Regions from separate parts of the Homo sapiens genome. Here all the other regions are linked to region 4. Evidence: promoter capture Hi-C in 16 types of primary human blood cells and fetal thymus (Javierre and others, 2016). All regions are on one chromosome and are shown on one strand. Each heading gives the region's core, a stretch centred on a gene start or on the middle of the fragment in contact. The rest is flanking DNA. Distances are from core to core; before and after follow the strand shown. Region 1 has its middle 20 kb from the start of FBXO28. Region 2 has its middle 36 kb from the start of FBXO28. Region 3 overlaps FBXO28 (F-box protein 28). Region 4 holds the start of WDR26 (WD repeat domain 26). Region 5 overlaps LOC105373109 (a long non-coding RNA gene).

Region 1 (2,727 bases), core at 2-2,501, 340 kb after region 4:
TGGCTGAGGGTGGGAAGGAAAATGAAGGAACAGGGGCATCTTTCCCTCTGACTATAGGAAGCTTGATTTTGTGTTCCTATCTACTTCCTTCTTCTGTTATTACCCTCTTCCCAATCTATCATTGCAATCATTTTAATGCCACTAAAAAAATAGCTTCTTTTTTTCTGCCTGCAGATTGCATAAACAATATCTTGGTCTGCTCTCTACCTGTAATTCATTGAGTAACCCAAGGCAGGCTCTAATTTTTTTTTTCTGTTAGCATGTATTACTTGAGAACATTGCTATCCTTTGAGCTCATAAAAGAACAAGGTTGAGGTTCTTTAATAAGAGGGAATAAGGAGGCATGAGAAACATATACTTATGGGTGCAAGTCAATTGGTAGACACTGGCTCTTTCAAGTCACAATGATGTCATTTGCTGCCCGAAATTAGTGGTTGCCAAATCATCAGTGCTTATTAAAAACAAAGATTCTTGGGTACCTTCTCTGGAGACGTGGATTCAATGCATCTGGGGTGCATCCAGGGAACCTATATTAACAAGAACTTCAGGAAGTTCTTAGGTTCAGCAGGTTTCGAAAACCCAGTCTTCAGGCATACATTGCTGAATAGTACCCACAAGATCTGAGAGTAAACATCATTGTGTTTTGTATAAAATTTTTCTTGTAAAAATTTATTGAACCAGCATTAAAGAAAAAATTAAAAAACATAAACTACCTCTATTTTTGCTGTTCTAATACAGTAGTTTCACTTCTCTGCAATTCCTTGTATACTATACTCTCATTTTACATATTTTTAACATAAATATTTACAAATTTATTTATTTATTTATTTTTTAAGACAAAGTCTCACTCTGTCACCCAGGCTGGAGTGCAGTGGCACAATCTCGGCTCACTGTTACCTCTGCTTCCTGAGTTCAAGCAATTCTCGGCCTTAATCTCCTGAGTAGTTGGGGATACTGGTGCATGGTACCATTTTTGTATTTTTTGTAGAGACAGGGTTTCACCATGTTGGCCAGGCTGGTCATGAACTCCAGACCTCAAGTGATCCACCTGCCTCGGCCTCCCAAAATGCTGGGAATACAGACCTGAGCCCCTGGGCCCGGCCAAAAATCTATAAATTTAAACTTTGCACTTCGGGAGACTGAGGTGGGAGAATTGCTTGAGCCCAGGAGTTCAAGACCAGCCTGAGCAACATAGCAAGACCTTGTCTCTACTAAAAAAAAAAATAAAAAAATAACTAGGCATTGTGGCGAGCACCTGTGGTCCCAGTTATTTAGGAGGCTGAGGCAAGAGGATCAGTTGAGTCCAGGAGGTTGAGGCTGCAGTGAGCCATGATTGTGCCTGTGCACTTCAGCCTGGGTGACGCAGCAAGACCCTGTCTAAAAAAAAAAAAAAAAGTAAACAAATACATTTTGGTGGGTTTTTAAAAAATATATAACATATTAGAAATATTTTTTTCCTTGATGTTGTATAAGGTTGGTGACTTAGTTCATTCAAACTGCTGTAATAAAAATACCATGAACTAGGTGGCTTATAAACAATTTAAATTTCTTTCTTACAGTTCTAGAGGCTGCAAAGTCCAAGATCAAAGTGCCACCAGATTTCATGTCTAGTGAGGGCTCATTCTATTTCATAGATGATGCCTTCTTGCTGTGTCCTCACCTGATGGGAAGGATGAATAAGTTTCCTTGGACCTCTTTTATAAGGGCACTCATCTCATTCCTAAGGGCTCCACCCTTATAACCTAATCACCTCCCCAAACCCCCACCTCTTAATACTATCACATTAGGGAATAGGTTTCAACATATGAATTTTGGGGGAGCATAGACATTCAGACCACAGCAATTGGTAATTATAATGTTAAATGTCTAGGCTGGGCAGGGTGGCTCATGTCTGTAATCTCAGCACTTTGGGAGGCCGAGGCAGGCAGATCATTTGAAGTCAGGAGTATGAGACCAGCCTGGCCAACATGGAGAAACCCCGTCTCTACTAAAAATACAAAAATTAGCTGGGTGTGGTGGCATGTGCCTGTAATCCCAGCTACTCGGGAGGCTGAGGGAGGAGAATTGCTTGAACCTGGGAGGCAGAGGTTGCAGTGAGCCGAGATGGCACCACTGCACTCCAGCTTGGGTGACAGAGTGAGACTCCATCTCAAAAAAAAAAAAAATGTCTACAGTTAACCCATCCATTTACCAAATATTGGACACTTTGGTTGTTTCTAATTTTTTACTTACATTACAGATTAAAATTAAAAATTAAAACTATTTTAGAATAATTTCTCAGGAGTGATATTGTGTTAGGCTGTTCTTGCATTGCTATAAAGAAACAACTGAGGTTGGGTAATTTATAAAGAAAAGAGGAGAGATTTAACTGGCTTACAGTTCTGCAGGCTGTACAAGCATGGCTCTAGCATCTGTTTCTAGTGAAGCCTTAGGAAGCTTACAATCACAGTGGAAGGTGAAGTGGGAGCAGCCTCGTCACATGGCAAGAGTGAGAGGCAGCAAGGGGGGCAGGATGTGTCACATACTTTTAAACAGCCAGATCTTGTGAGAACTCACTCACTGTCACGAGGACAGGACCAAGACATTCATGAGGGATCTGCCCACATGACACAAACACCTCCTACCATGCCCTACCTCCAACATTGGGGATTACATTTCAACATGAATTTTGGAGGGGACAAATGTCCAAACTATATCAGACATTAATGAATTAAAGAGTTTGAATAT
Region 2 (2,745 bases), core at 91-2,590, 360 kb after region 4:
GTTTATCTCATATTCAAAGCATTCTGTTTTTTTTTTTCCTCACTATGGAATGTAAGACGTTTGATCTTATTGGAGACAATGCAAAGTGTCAGTTTTTGCTTCTACATTATCCCCACCCTTACCTCGGCTCTTTACAGATCAGAAACCAAGGCAGAGGTAGGTAAAGTAACTTGCTTCAGGTCATAGGGCTGGCAAATGGCTGAGCCAAGATTTGAATACAGGAAGCCGGGTTCCATTGAGTAATGATGCCTCTCTATCCTCTAATGATACCTCCCTTCTCAGAAAGTTAGTGGCTCAGCCTTGGCAACATAGGGAGATCCCTTCTCTACAAAACAAAAACACAAACAAACAAACAAACAAAAAATGCCAAGCATGTTGGTGTGCACCTGTAGTCCCAGCTACTCAGGAGGCTGAGGCAGAAGTATTGCTTGAGCATGGGAGGTTGAGGCTGCAGTGAGCCACGATAGTGGCACTGCATTTCAGCCTAGGTGTCAGAATGAGATCCTGTCTCAAAAAAAAAGAAAAAAGAAAAAAGAAAAGTGGGAGGCTGAGGTGGGTGGATCACCTGAGGTCAGGAGTTCAAGACCTGCCTAGCCAACATGGTGAAACCCCGTCTCTACTAAAAATACAAAAATTAGCCAGGCATGGTGGTGGGTGCCTGTAATTCCAACTACTCAGGAGGCTGAGGCAGGAGAATCGCTTGAACTCAGGAGGCAGAGTTTGCAGTGAGCCAAGATCATGCCATTGCCCTCCAGCCTGGGCAACAAGAGCCAGACTCCATCTCAGAAAAAAAGAAAAAAAAAAAAAAAAAAAAGAAAGAAAAAGAAAAGAATGAACCAGTTGATGGCTACTTAATGCCTGCCCCATTCATTGATCATTTAAGAATGCACAGACCTATGTTCTTATTTCGTTTTTTGTATGTGATTATCTTATTTCCCCTCTGGCCTGAAGGCTGCTTAACAGCTGGCACTTGGTTATGCTGGAATTTAGGAGGGCACTACACAACTGTTGCTCTGTAAATATTCATGGACTGGATGAACGATCTTCAGGTCCATTTCCACCTGTACAAGTTGGTGGAGACCGCTTACTCTCCACCAAACCTTACTTATACTAATGGTTAGTGAAAATATGTGCAGCATTAGTTTTGAACAAAACCAAAATGTTGAAAATTGAAACTGAGATTTCTATTAGAATCTAGAAGGACCTGCTATAGGCTTAGGAATGCCAAAATCGATTTCTCTTCCCATTTACATTTAAAAGCTTCCTAGGCTTTCTGAAATGTCATTGAAGTTTGAAATTTGAGGTGGCAGCAAAGGGCTGCCGCCATCTAAGTTCATGGTTCCTAGCCTGTCCCCTTAGCAGTGACCAAGGAAAAATGGTTTAATCCTCTACACTTTTATATCCTGTAAAGCAAGCTTAAAAATCCACCAGTGTAATAATCTCCCCAAGGAGTCAAGGTGACAAATGTCGGAAATACGCTTTTCAAGTGAGAGATTCACAATAATAAAGCTCTGCCAAAAAGCCATCAATACACTTAACAGGCTAGAAAGGGCTCACCCTTTTTTTTCTAGTGAAAAATAATGTCTTCTTGACATATCTATAGTTTGCCATTAGTGGGTTATTTTATGGCCACATTCTAAACTCTTGCAGTAAACAGCTCCTATCACAAAGCTTCACATGTCATTATACCAAAAAGGCATCTTTGACAGTATCACCTTCATCTCTGTAGCTTATAAAAATAATAATCTGACTTCCTCTAAGTATATTGCGCATAATATTCTTTCCTCTGCAAAATATTGGCTTCAAAATGCATATTTTGCATGTCATTTTTTCTCTTTTTTTTTGAAACAGAGTCTCGCTCTGTTGCCCAGGCTAGAGTGCAGTGCTACGATCTCAGCTCACTGCAACCTCTGCCTCCCAGGTACAAGAGATTCTCCTGCCTTAGCCTTCCAAGTTGCTGGGATTATAGGCATGTGCCAGCATGCCCAGCTAATTTTTGTATTTTTAGTAGAGATGGGGTTTCACCATGTTGGCCAGGCTGGTTTTGAACTCCTGACTTCAGGTGATCCTCCTGCCTTGACCTCTTAAAGTGCTGGGATTACAGGCATGAGCCACTGCGCCCAGCCAAATGGCATTGTTTCGATGCAGAGAATTTCTTAATGTTATTTTGGCATACCAGAGTATTGTACTACTTTCCTACTTAGATAATCTTTTTCTCCAGTCAGTAGAAATCTCTTTTAATGAGGGCAAAGAAAACCACATAGATTGTTCAATTTCTCTCCGAAGATATTATAGTAGCATGTTACCTTAAATCTTTTTTAGACTAAGACAGGTTCTAAATGCACACTCAAACAAATAAGTAAGCAAACTAATTACATGAAAGAATGAACTCCTCAAGGAACCCATAGAAACACGCCATCATTCTATTTCTGAGTAACCCTAGAGCTACGGTATTATAAGCCAATGAAAGATTGCTTAGGCAGTTATGAAGTTATGTTTCTCCATTTACTATTGATTTTGGGCTTTTATTTTTCTCTTTCTTTTCAGAAACCATTTCTTTTTCCCTTAACATGATCAGGAATTCCCCCAAATGTTCTTGGAATTAGAGTTTCTCAGGTTGAGTTTTGGCTGTCCCTGGTCCCAGCTTGAGGTTATGCTGTGCTAAATTTTATCACTAGCCATTTGAGTATGGCTTAAACTTCTTGGAGAAAAGGTGATATGCTAGAAACTACAGGCACACATGGT
Region 3 (2,700 bases), core at 141-2,640, 270 kb after region 4:
AAGGAACAGGTTAAACTGATTTATATAATTTTATTTTGTTGAAATTCTAACCATTTAGTTTTGGAACTGGACGTAGTCTTGAAAAGAGAACTAGTACCCCACCCTCGCAGGGTGAAAGAATTGGTAGTTGCTACTTTTCTACTGACCAGCAGCATATATTATACAGGAAGGTGACTTTTTTGAAACAGTCTTTCTCTGTTGCCCAGGCTGGAGTGCAGTGGCGTGACCTCGGCTCGCTGTAAGCTCCACTTCCCCAGCTCAAGCGAATCTCATGCCTCAGCCTCCCTAGTAGCTGAGACTACAGGTGTGCGACACCATGCCTGGCTAATTTTTGTATTTTTAATAGAGAGGGGTTTTGCCACATTGGCCAGGCTGGTCTCAAACTCCTGGCCTCAAATGACCCACCCGCCTTGGCCTCCCAAAATGCTGCAGTAACAGGTGTGAGCTACCGCACCCGGCCAGAAGGTGACTTTAGACATGTCAGTAGCCTTAGCGCACATCTACTGCCAGGACTTCTCTGATTTTAAGATTACAGGTTCTGGAAGCCTTTTAAACATTCTCTTTTACTTGTACACCTAGGGTGAACCCCTTGTGTGCAAATAACCTTAAAAGTTGCCTCCTCCAAGCCCAGCTTTTTTTTTTTTTTTTTTGAGACGGAGTCTCACTCTGTCACCCAGGCTAGAGTGCAGTGGCACAATCTTGGCTCACTGCAACCTCTGCCTCCCAGGTTCAAGCAATTCTCCTGCCTCACCCTCCCGAGTAGCTGGGATTAGAGGCACCTGCCATCACGCCCGGCGAATTTTTGTATTTTTAGTAGAGATGAGGTTTCACCATGTTGGTCAGGCTGGTCTCGAACTCCTGACCTTGTGATCTGCCCCGCCTCGGCCTCCCAAAGTGCTAGGATTACAGGTGTGAGCCACCGTGCCCGGCCTAGCCCAGCCTTTTCTTGATCTCAGTTCTATATACTACTGTTAGCATTAGTGATTTGGGCATTGACTGCTTCTAGTGGATGTGTGGGATGGTCTTGCTTATATTAAGTTCAGAGTCTCATTGTTCTCAGGTTTCTAGGATGCAGTGTAGTGTAGTAGCAAGTTTATAAACTTCAGAGCTCATGGGTCAAATCCCACTTACGCCACTTACTTGCATAACACTGTGGACATGTTGCTTAGCCTGAGTTCAACTTCCCCACGTAGAGTAAAACCTACTTTATAAGGTAGCTGTGAGGACCACTGTAACATCTGTAAAACACATAGTACAGTGCTCCAAAAGACAGTAGCTATCAATATGGTATGTTAGCAATAGAGCTCCATATTCTTTTGTGCATGAAATACAAAGAAAACAAGTAGCACTGGTAACAACACATTTATTTACGTACCCTGTTGTGTGACCGGGAGGTGTTTTTCACTTTCCAATAATTGATTCGGTTATAACAATTAAAATTCCAGAAGGTAAACTAGTAATTTATTGTTGCTCATAAGCATAGGTAAACAGACATGGTACCACAATAAAGGAATCTTAAACACTTCTAACCTTTTGGAATAGGTTTGAATATGGACCAATATACTTTGCCAATGGACCTAATAGATTACCAATATACTTCTAAATGTCATGGTTCTCTTCAGACACAACAGAAGAAATCTGGATCTAATTTTTAAACTTCAGAAATTTAACCAAGATGCTTAGGAAGATGCAAAAGGACAGCAGTACTTAAGCCTGTCATATTTATCACCAATATAACTGTATTGCTATTAAAAGTAAAATCATGGTAGGGAGCAGCCAACTAATTGCTAGTCTCAGTTCATAGATTTAGTATTTTTTGAAAATAATTCACCTCAGATGGCAGGCTATACAAGTTTAAAGTAGTTTTAACTTAACCTTTTGTGTACTAGTGAAAGCAATTCAGATAGATCCCAAGTCAAAGAACCAAACAGTGTATCAAGTTGGGTTTCATATCAGAAATCAGCCATTTCCAAACAACTGCATCGTATAGGACGTTTTCTTTCAGACTGCCTTTTATTCCTGGCTTCAAATCTTACTCACAGTATATGTTTTTAGAGAGTTTGGTAAGTGTAACAAATGGGTACTCATTGCTAGAGCAGGATATAAGAATGTGCTGATCACCAAGTATGAGATTTACATTACATTAAATTAAAATTATATAATGTTGGAAATAGACAATATAGGGAGTTCCCGGATCCTAGAAAATATTATGGCTAAGGAAACAGAGAACTCAAGAAATGAATCTACCTCCAAGAAACTAATTCAGTATAGTAAAATAGAATTAAGTGCCCTGTCTCAGGAAAAAGTTTATTAAGAATAAGGAACAAGTGGGACATCATACATCGTTTCTTTGGAGATTAAAGTGCAGGCTATGAAATGGCATATAAAATAATGCATAAAATAGTGCAATCTTAAGGTGCCATTATTTTTATTACACATAGCCTAGTTTTATGTCCATTTTCTCTCAAAAATCCAGCTGTAGTGACACCTTTTAGCTTATTAATTTAGGCATTACTTATACTGTTTTACCCACCTTTGGGGCTACATAGAATATTTTAACATTTTTAACACGTAGAATAATTGCGCATATATCTTGAAACTACTAAATAGAGATTAAGGCAAGCCCCTGTAAAGTTCAGTACTCCAAAAAAAGTGTTTTGCAAAAAAATTGCTTCCCAAATCAGTGGCTTTTGACCTGAT
Region 4 (2,770 bases), core at 84-2,583:
ACCAAATCCCTGTAAGATCCTGCATTGACCTTCCTCTTACTTCTTCCTGTCTGAGGATCCATAAACCTCAGGATTCTTTACTAATTTCTCATCAGCATCATTTTTTATTGTATTTCCAAATTTAAAAACAACTGTCTCCAAAGGCCTCAAAATTACTTTCAGTTATTACTATAATAAATATCAGCGATGTATGATGTATTAATTAGAAACTAAGGTGTTTTTTTTCCCCTCCCCACAGGAAAACTACTTCAGAGAAAGACTTTAAATTTCTGAGAAAATCTTTATACATATTGAGTATAGATGCTATCAACCACATACATGAAAATAATTGTTTGGGGATAATGCACACCATTTGCCAATGATTAAGATTCAGCCCAGTCTTTGTTGCTGCATTTCTACATTCACATAAATTGGTAAGTCATGATGACACAGAAGGCTCACATGCCACGTAAAAATTTCAAGCCTGGATCTGAATGGGTGCCTGAATCCTTCTCAGAATGCATATTTTGGAGGCAACTGTTTGGTTTATGTTACTGCTCCCTAAACTGGGCAGTGACTCAAGAGGCAGCTGGAAGAGAGAAGGAGGTGCTGGGCAAGTGCTAAAAAAGAGTGAAGCCTCAACAGCAGAGTCCCTCCCCTTCTCTACACACCACACAGCCTTTTTGTGACTTCTTGTCCCCATAAGATATGCTCCTCTAGACTAACTCCCCTTCCCAGGGTGGAGCAGAGTCTCACCGGCTCATTATCTCACAGCTCCCGGGATGGCCCCGGGTACAGCAACTGTGTGGCACTTGGCTGTGGAAATTCAAGTTTTTCCACCCTAAAACAAGTAGGTTGTGAAACCCGATTTCGGTCCTGGTTACCATTGAGAGGGGCCTACCACAGCCCTGTGCCTGGAAGTTCCTGCCTGTCGAAGCTCCTAGCCCCCTGCCCCATCCTCACCTTCTGCACCTGATGGAGAAGGTGCAGTCCCTCCGCGCACCTTACATGCCCATGCCACACTGGTGGACTCACGCACGCACGCCAACTCTGCCATCCCATGCACGCCCGGCTTCGGAGGGCGGCTACGAACTTACTGCTCGTCGAGCCAGCCGAGCCAGGGCGCAAGGGGAAAGGCCCGAGCGGGGCCGGGGATAGGATCGGATAGGAGTCGGGGTCGTGGATGGGGTCGGGGCGGACCCCGCCGGCCCGCTGGCCTCCCTCCCCTGACCCCCGGGACAGCCCCCGATGCACGTGCTGGGTGACAGGCCCCCTATAGGTTCCATACCTGCCACCGGAAGTGAGTGAGGAGGGCAGTATAGGCATTTCCTGTGACGCGAGCGCCTGGACTCCATTAGGCAGCAGCTGGGGGAAGAATCAACACACCAGGGAGCAGAGCGGAGCGGATCCGAGGACAGAGGCGGCAGCTGCCTCCGCTGCCGCCCGCCGCCGCCGCCGCCGCAGCCACTGCCGGGGCTCAGCCCAGCGGCGGGCCCCGCGCCCCCGCAGCCGCCCCGCGGCGCCCCCCGGCGCGACCCCCGGGCCGCGCACCCCGAGCTGCCTCCGGGAGGGGGGGGGGAAAGGGCCCGGATCCTCCTTCTCCCCCTCCTCCTCCTCCCCCTCCTCTCACCCTCACCCTCACCCTCCTACCCTGACCCCCTCCCCGCCTCCCCGGCCCCCCTCACCCCGACCCTCTCCCCGGCCCCCGCCTCCCCTCCCCCGCCTCGCCCCACCGGCTTCCCACCACGGCCTCTCTCGGCGAGGAAACTCTGGCCTCCGCTTCCTCCTCCTCCGACTCGGACACCGGCGGAGCCTCCCCGCCCCCGCGGAAGAAACCCCGAGCCTCGGCGGCGGAGGGAGTAGGAGAGCCCGGGGCTTCGGCAGGCAGAGCAGGCCTCTCCCCTCCGTCCTCGTCGTCCTCGTCCTCCTCCTCCTCCTCCTCCTCCGTGGTGGTAGTGGTGGGACTTCCCCCGGCTGCTGCCCCTCCCGCCGCCGCTGCTGTCCCCCACCGAAGTAGCGGCCACAGCCTGGTCAGCGGCAGCATCATGCAGGCCAATGGGGCAGGAGGAGGAGGAGGAGGTGGCGGCGGCGGCGGTGGAGGAGGAGGGGGCGGCGGGGGCCAGGGACAGACCCCGGAACTCGCCTGCTTGTCGGCCCAGAACGGGGAGTCGTCCCCCTCGTCGTCGTCGTCCGCGGGGGACCTGGCCCACGCCAATGGGCTCCTGCCTTCCGCCCCCTCCGCCGCCAGCAACAATAGCAACAGCCTGAATGTCAATAACGGGGTTCCCGGCGGGGCGGCCGCCGCATCCTCAGCCACCGTCGCAGCTGCCTCCGCCACCACCGCCGCCTCCTCTTCCTTGGCCACCCCAGAACTGGGCAGCAGCCTCAAGAAGAAGAAGCGGCTCTCCCAGTCAGATGAGGATGTCATTAGGCTAATAGGACAGCACTTGAATGGCTTAGGGCTCAAGTAAGTATCCCTTACCGCCAGCTGGTGATGGACAGACCGAGGGACGGAGGCTCCAGGGGGGTAGGGGAAGGGGCGGAGGGGGGAGGGGGGCTTGAAAGAGCTCGGTCAAAGAGAATGAGTGCTGGGCACGCAGGACCCAGTACACAGGAGGACGCGGCTCAGGGCGACCGGGGAGGAGGAGCGGACCTGAAAGGAAATAGGGGAAAATCAATCAGTCTGACAAATTGTGAGACGAGACAGGCGTTGAGGGGTTAGGAAGGGTTAGGAGAAACCCAAAGAATGACTTCTCCCCACGCACCTTCAGAGCTTAATTGTCTGTCAATA
Region 5 (2,700 bases), core at 151-2,650, 480 kb before region 4:
CAATGTTGATACAGAGAGTTTATTTGGGGCAAGGTTGAGGACAGCTCATAAATCAGTTGAATTCCTATCTTCCAAAGGTCCCAAAATAGCCTGTCTTCCAAAGATCCCCAAATATCTTGAGGTTTCTGTGCCTATCAGAAAGTGGCATTACTTACCCCAAGGTCAGGATCCTGCAAAGGAAAAATATAGACAAGGTACCAGGCCATTTTTTCCAAGTCTTGGTTTTATAAAGTCAACATTAATCCCTCAAAGCAGTCTGCTCAAACTTGAAAATATGACATTCCATTCAAAGCTTTAGTAAAATAACCAGTGTTTCCAATGTGTCCTGTTACAAAAGGAAAAGAGATTCTTATTGAACTTATACAAATAGCCACATTGCAATAAAATGAGAATACAATTTTCAAATTCTAGAGAAATCAGGTAGAGAGAAAGGTAAATGTTTCAATTTTTCTCACAAAAGTATACTTTACTCAATTGCTGTAAACTATAAATAGCTTAAAAAATGTATTGACTCTAGAAAGCAAAATATAAAAACAATCAGCAGTATTTCAAACAAAATGAAGTCATAACAAATTATTTCAGTCTTCTGTCATTCAGTCCTATGTAATTAACTTTTGCTGTGTTTGAAATTGGGTTAGCAATGTTTATAAACCCATCAGTTTTTTATTAGAGTTCTGAATGTTTTTACCTCATCCAATGGTATAATCTCCAAAGTTATCAGAAACCTGTATTCAAGAGTACTTGTCATAGTCCTTTCCATTAATTTCCTTGAAGACACAATGCTTTAGCATTTGCAAAAAGGTTTGAGGATAAAAAGTGATTTACTGCATATATCAAGACATATCAGATTTTTATAAAACCTCATACAATTTTGGAGAGCATACATTAATAACATCCACACAAAGATAATTCAAAGAAAGTCAAACACCATTTCTTATTGGATAATACTTCCCATATGATTTTAACATCCCTTTAACATCCCAATAAGCCTAATATGTCCCTCTTGGATTTTCAAGAGCCCTCCATTTTTTTGAATGTCCAAGAGTTACTTTGAGGTCAAAAAGACTCAATTTTAGAATTTGAATTTTGTTTTTGGGAGGTATGTCAAATATCAAAGGTTGAAGACACTTGATATTAAAATAAATCACAGGTCACTCTAAAATAATAGTCATCTATTTAGCTAAAGTGATAATTCAAAGATTTCAGAAAGCAAAAACTTTTACTCAATAGAGCAGCAACTCAGTTTTCCAATCAAAAGACCTAATAAAGGCAGCATCAGATTATCTCTCCCATTCTCCTCTCCTTTTAAAAATTTTGCAATTTACTGAAAAGGTGAACAAAAATATTTTACTATATCTTATTAATACTATATGAAAATATTGTTCAGAAGAAAAAAACAAATGTAACCCTTGTATCAATGTATTATTATTAAATCTAATTTTAATAAAACCTTATATACAGATCCATCGAATCTTGATCAGCTTTGATCACACAGCATAAGATTTTCATAAGCCTTTTATAACCTATTACAATTTTTCCCATTTTCTTTTTCCCCAGTTTTTTATATATGTTTAGTTTATCTTTTTTAATTTAAATAACTTTTACATCACCTTTAAGCCAGGCAAACTTACTTATCTGTTAAACATTTTAACATCTTTTTAGAAAACTTTCTTTACCAAAACACATCCTATTTTTCTTTTACACTTTATATACAGAATAGTTTCTCTTACATCTAGTAGTTTTAATCACATATATTAATTACAATGTTAACTCTTAGTAACCCTAATTCTTACTGAAAAACCTAGGAAGTAAGCAATTTTAATTGTTATGTACCAGGTGTAGAACCCAGGACAGAGAAGGCTGTGAAGACAAGTCCTGGAGGATCTGATTCCTCCCAGCATGGCTAGAAGGCACAGCCGAGTCAGGGAGGACATCCTGGGCTTGGCTCTGTACCAAAGCTGGGGTGGCCTAAGTCACCAGACCTCACTATGGGCACTTGTCTAGACCTTACAATCTGAAGGCTCAAAACTAAACACATAAGATCATAGATAAACCAAACAGCTATCAAAAATGTCACAGAAAACAACAGTTTTATGACCTGAAAACTTCTATCAGAGACAGTCTAAACCTTTCTGACCAGTAGTCCCAGGCAAAATGTCTGAATTGTATTTAATACTGACTGTTCTGAAGACATTCAAGTTTTATTTTATCAGCAATTTTAAAACTAGCTTTATTTATCAAAGATTACTAAAGTCATGTGAACTTGAAAAGTTTTTGCACATATTTACTTAATTTATGAGTACTCATTTATTTACAAGTCAATTTGGTACCAGGTAGGCAATATACAAACACAGACATGCATATATGTATAGTAAAAATACAAAATAAATATTTTATAGTATAGATTTTATAATTTCTGCCATAAGACAAGTAAAACTCACTCATTTAAAAGAACACTTGGATTAAATTGTACCTCTGTAAATGGAACAAGTTATGTCCAAAGCTTTTACTGAATTTTAGAGAAAATAGGATAGCAAATTTACATTTCATAGAGGGAGAATTCAAGATTTCCAAAAGGTCAAGGAAGTTTTACATTATCATTGGCAAAAATTATGTCATCAAAAGAGAAGCAGAACAAAGGAGTGCCTATAATTAAAGGTTTAAGAAGAAATGAATTCAGTTGACTGATAAGCTTCTATG

What was found. Contacts are between HindIII fragments. The CHiCAGO score rates a contact against its expected background, and 5 or more counts as called.
Region 1: a fragment that was not itself captured here is called in contact with the fragment with the promoter of WDR26 in region 4 in 7 of 17 cell types (naive B cells, naive CD8 T cells, non-activated CD4 T cells and 4 more); the score reaches 7.2 in naive B cells.
Region 2: a contact is called between a fragment that was not itself captured here and the fragment with the promoter of WDR26 in region 4, in 3 of 17 cell types (naive B cells, naive CD8 T cells and total B cells). The highest score is 8.3, in naive B cells.
Region 3: a contact is called between a fragment that was not itself captured here and the fragment with the promoter of WDR26 in region 4, in 4 of 17 cell types (naive CD8 T cells, total CD8 T cells, total CD4 T cells and 1 more). The highest score is 6.3, in naive CD8 T cells.
Region 5: a fragment that was not itself captured here is called in contact with the fragment with the promoter of WDR26 in region 4 in 2 of 17 cell types (M2 macrophages and M1 macrophages); the score reaches 5.6 in M2 macrophages.

The regions. Positions count from the first base shown.
Region 1 is chr1:224,092,613-224,095,339 of GRCh38, reverse strand. No RefSeq gene overlaps it. Among named protein-coding and RNA genes, the nearest start is that of FBXO28, 20 kb to the left of the region's middle. The HindIII fragment of the contact is 2,375 bases long and covers 64-2,438 here.
Region 2 is chr1:224,076,295-224,079,039 of GRCh38, reverse strand. No RefSeq gene overlaps it. Among named protein-coding and RNA genes, the nearest start is that of FBXO28, 36 kb to the left of the region's middle. The HindIII fragment of the contact is 155 bases long and covers 1,263-1,417 here.
Region 3 is chr1:224,160,694-224,163,393 of GRCh38, reverse strand. It overlaps FBXO28 (F-box protein 28), which reads right to left. Exons shown (of 5, transcript NM_015176.4): 5 at 1,347-2,700. Among named protein-coding and RNA genes, the nearest start is that of DEGS1, 21 kb to the left of the region's middle. RefSeq lists an enhancer at 482-982. The HindIII fragment of the contact is 5,297 bases long and covers 1-2,700 here.
Region 4 is chr1:224,433,360-224,436,129 of GRCh38, reverse strand. WDR26 (WD repeat domain 26) reads left to right here and starts at 1,333. Exons shown (of 14, transcript NM_001379403.1): 1 at 1,333-2,446. The coding sequence starts at 1,725. It also overlaps a transcript of CNIH3 not described here. RefSeq lists an enhancer at 425-614 and a silencer at 955-1,354. The HindIII fragment of the contact is 13,558 bases long and covers 1-2,770 here.
Region 5 is chr1:224,913,870-224,916,569 of GRCh38, reverse strand. The region is part of intron 1 of LOC105373109 (a long non-coding RNA gene); the gene reads left to right. Among named protein-coding and RNA genes, the nearest start is that of DNAH14, 14 kb to the left of the region's middle. The HindIII fragment of the contact is 2,211 bases long and covers 295-2,505 here.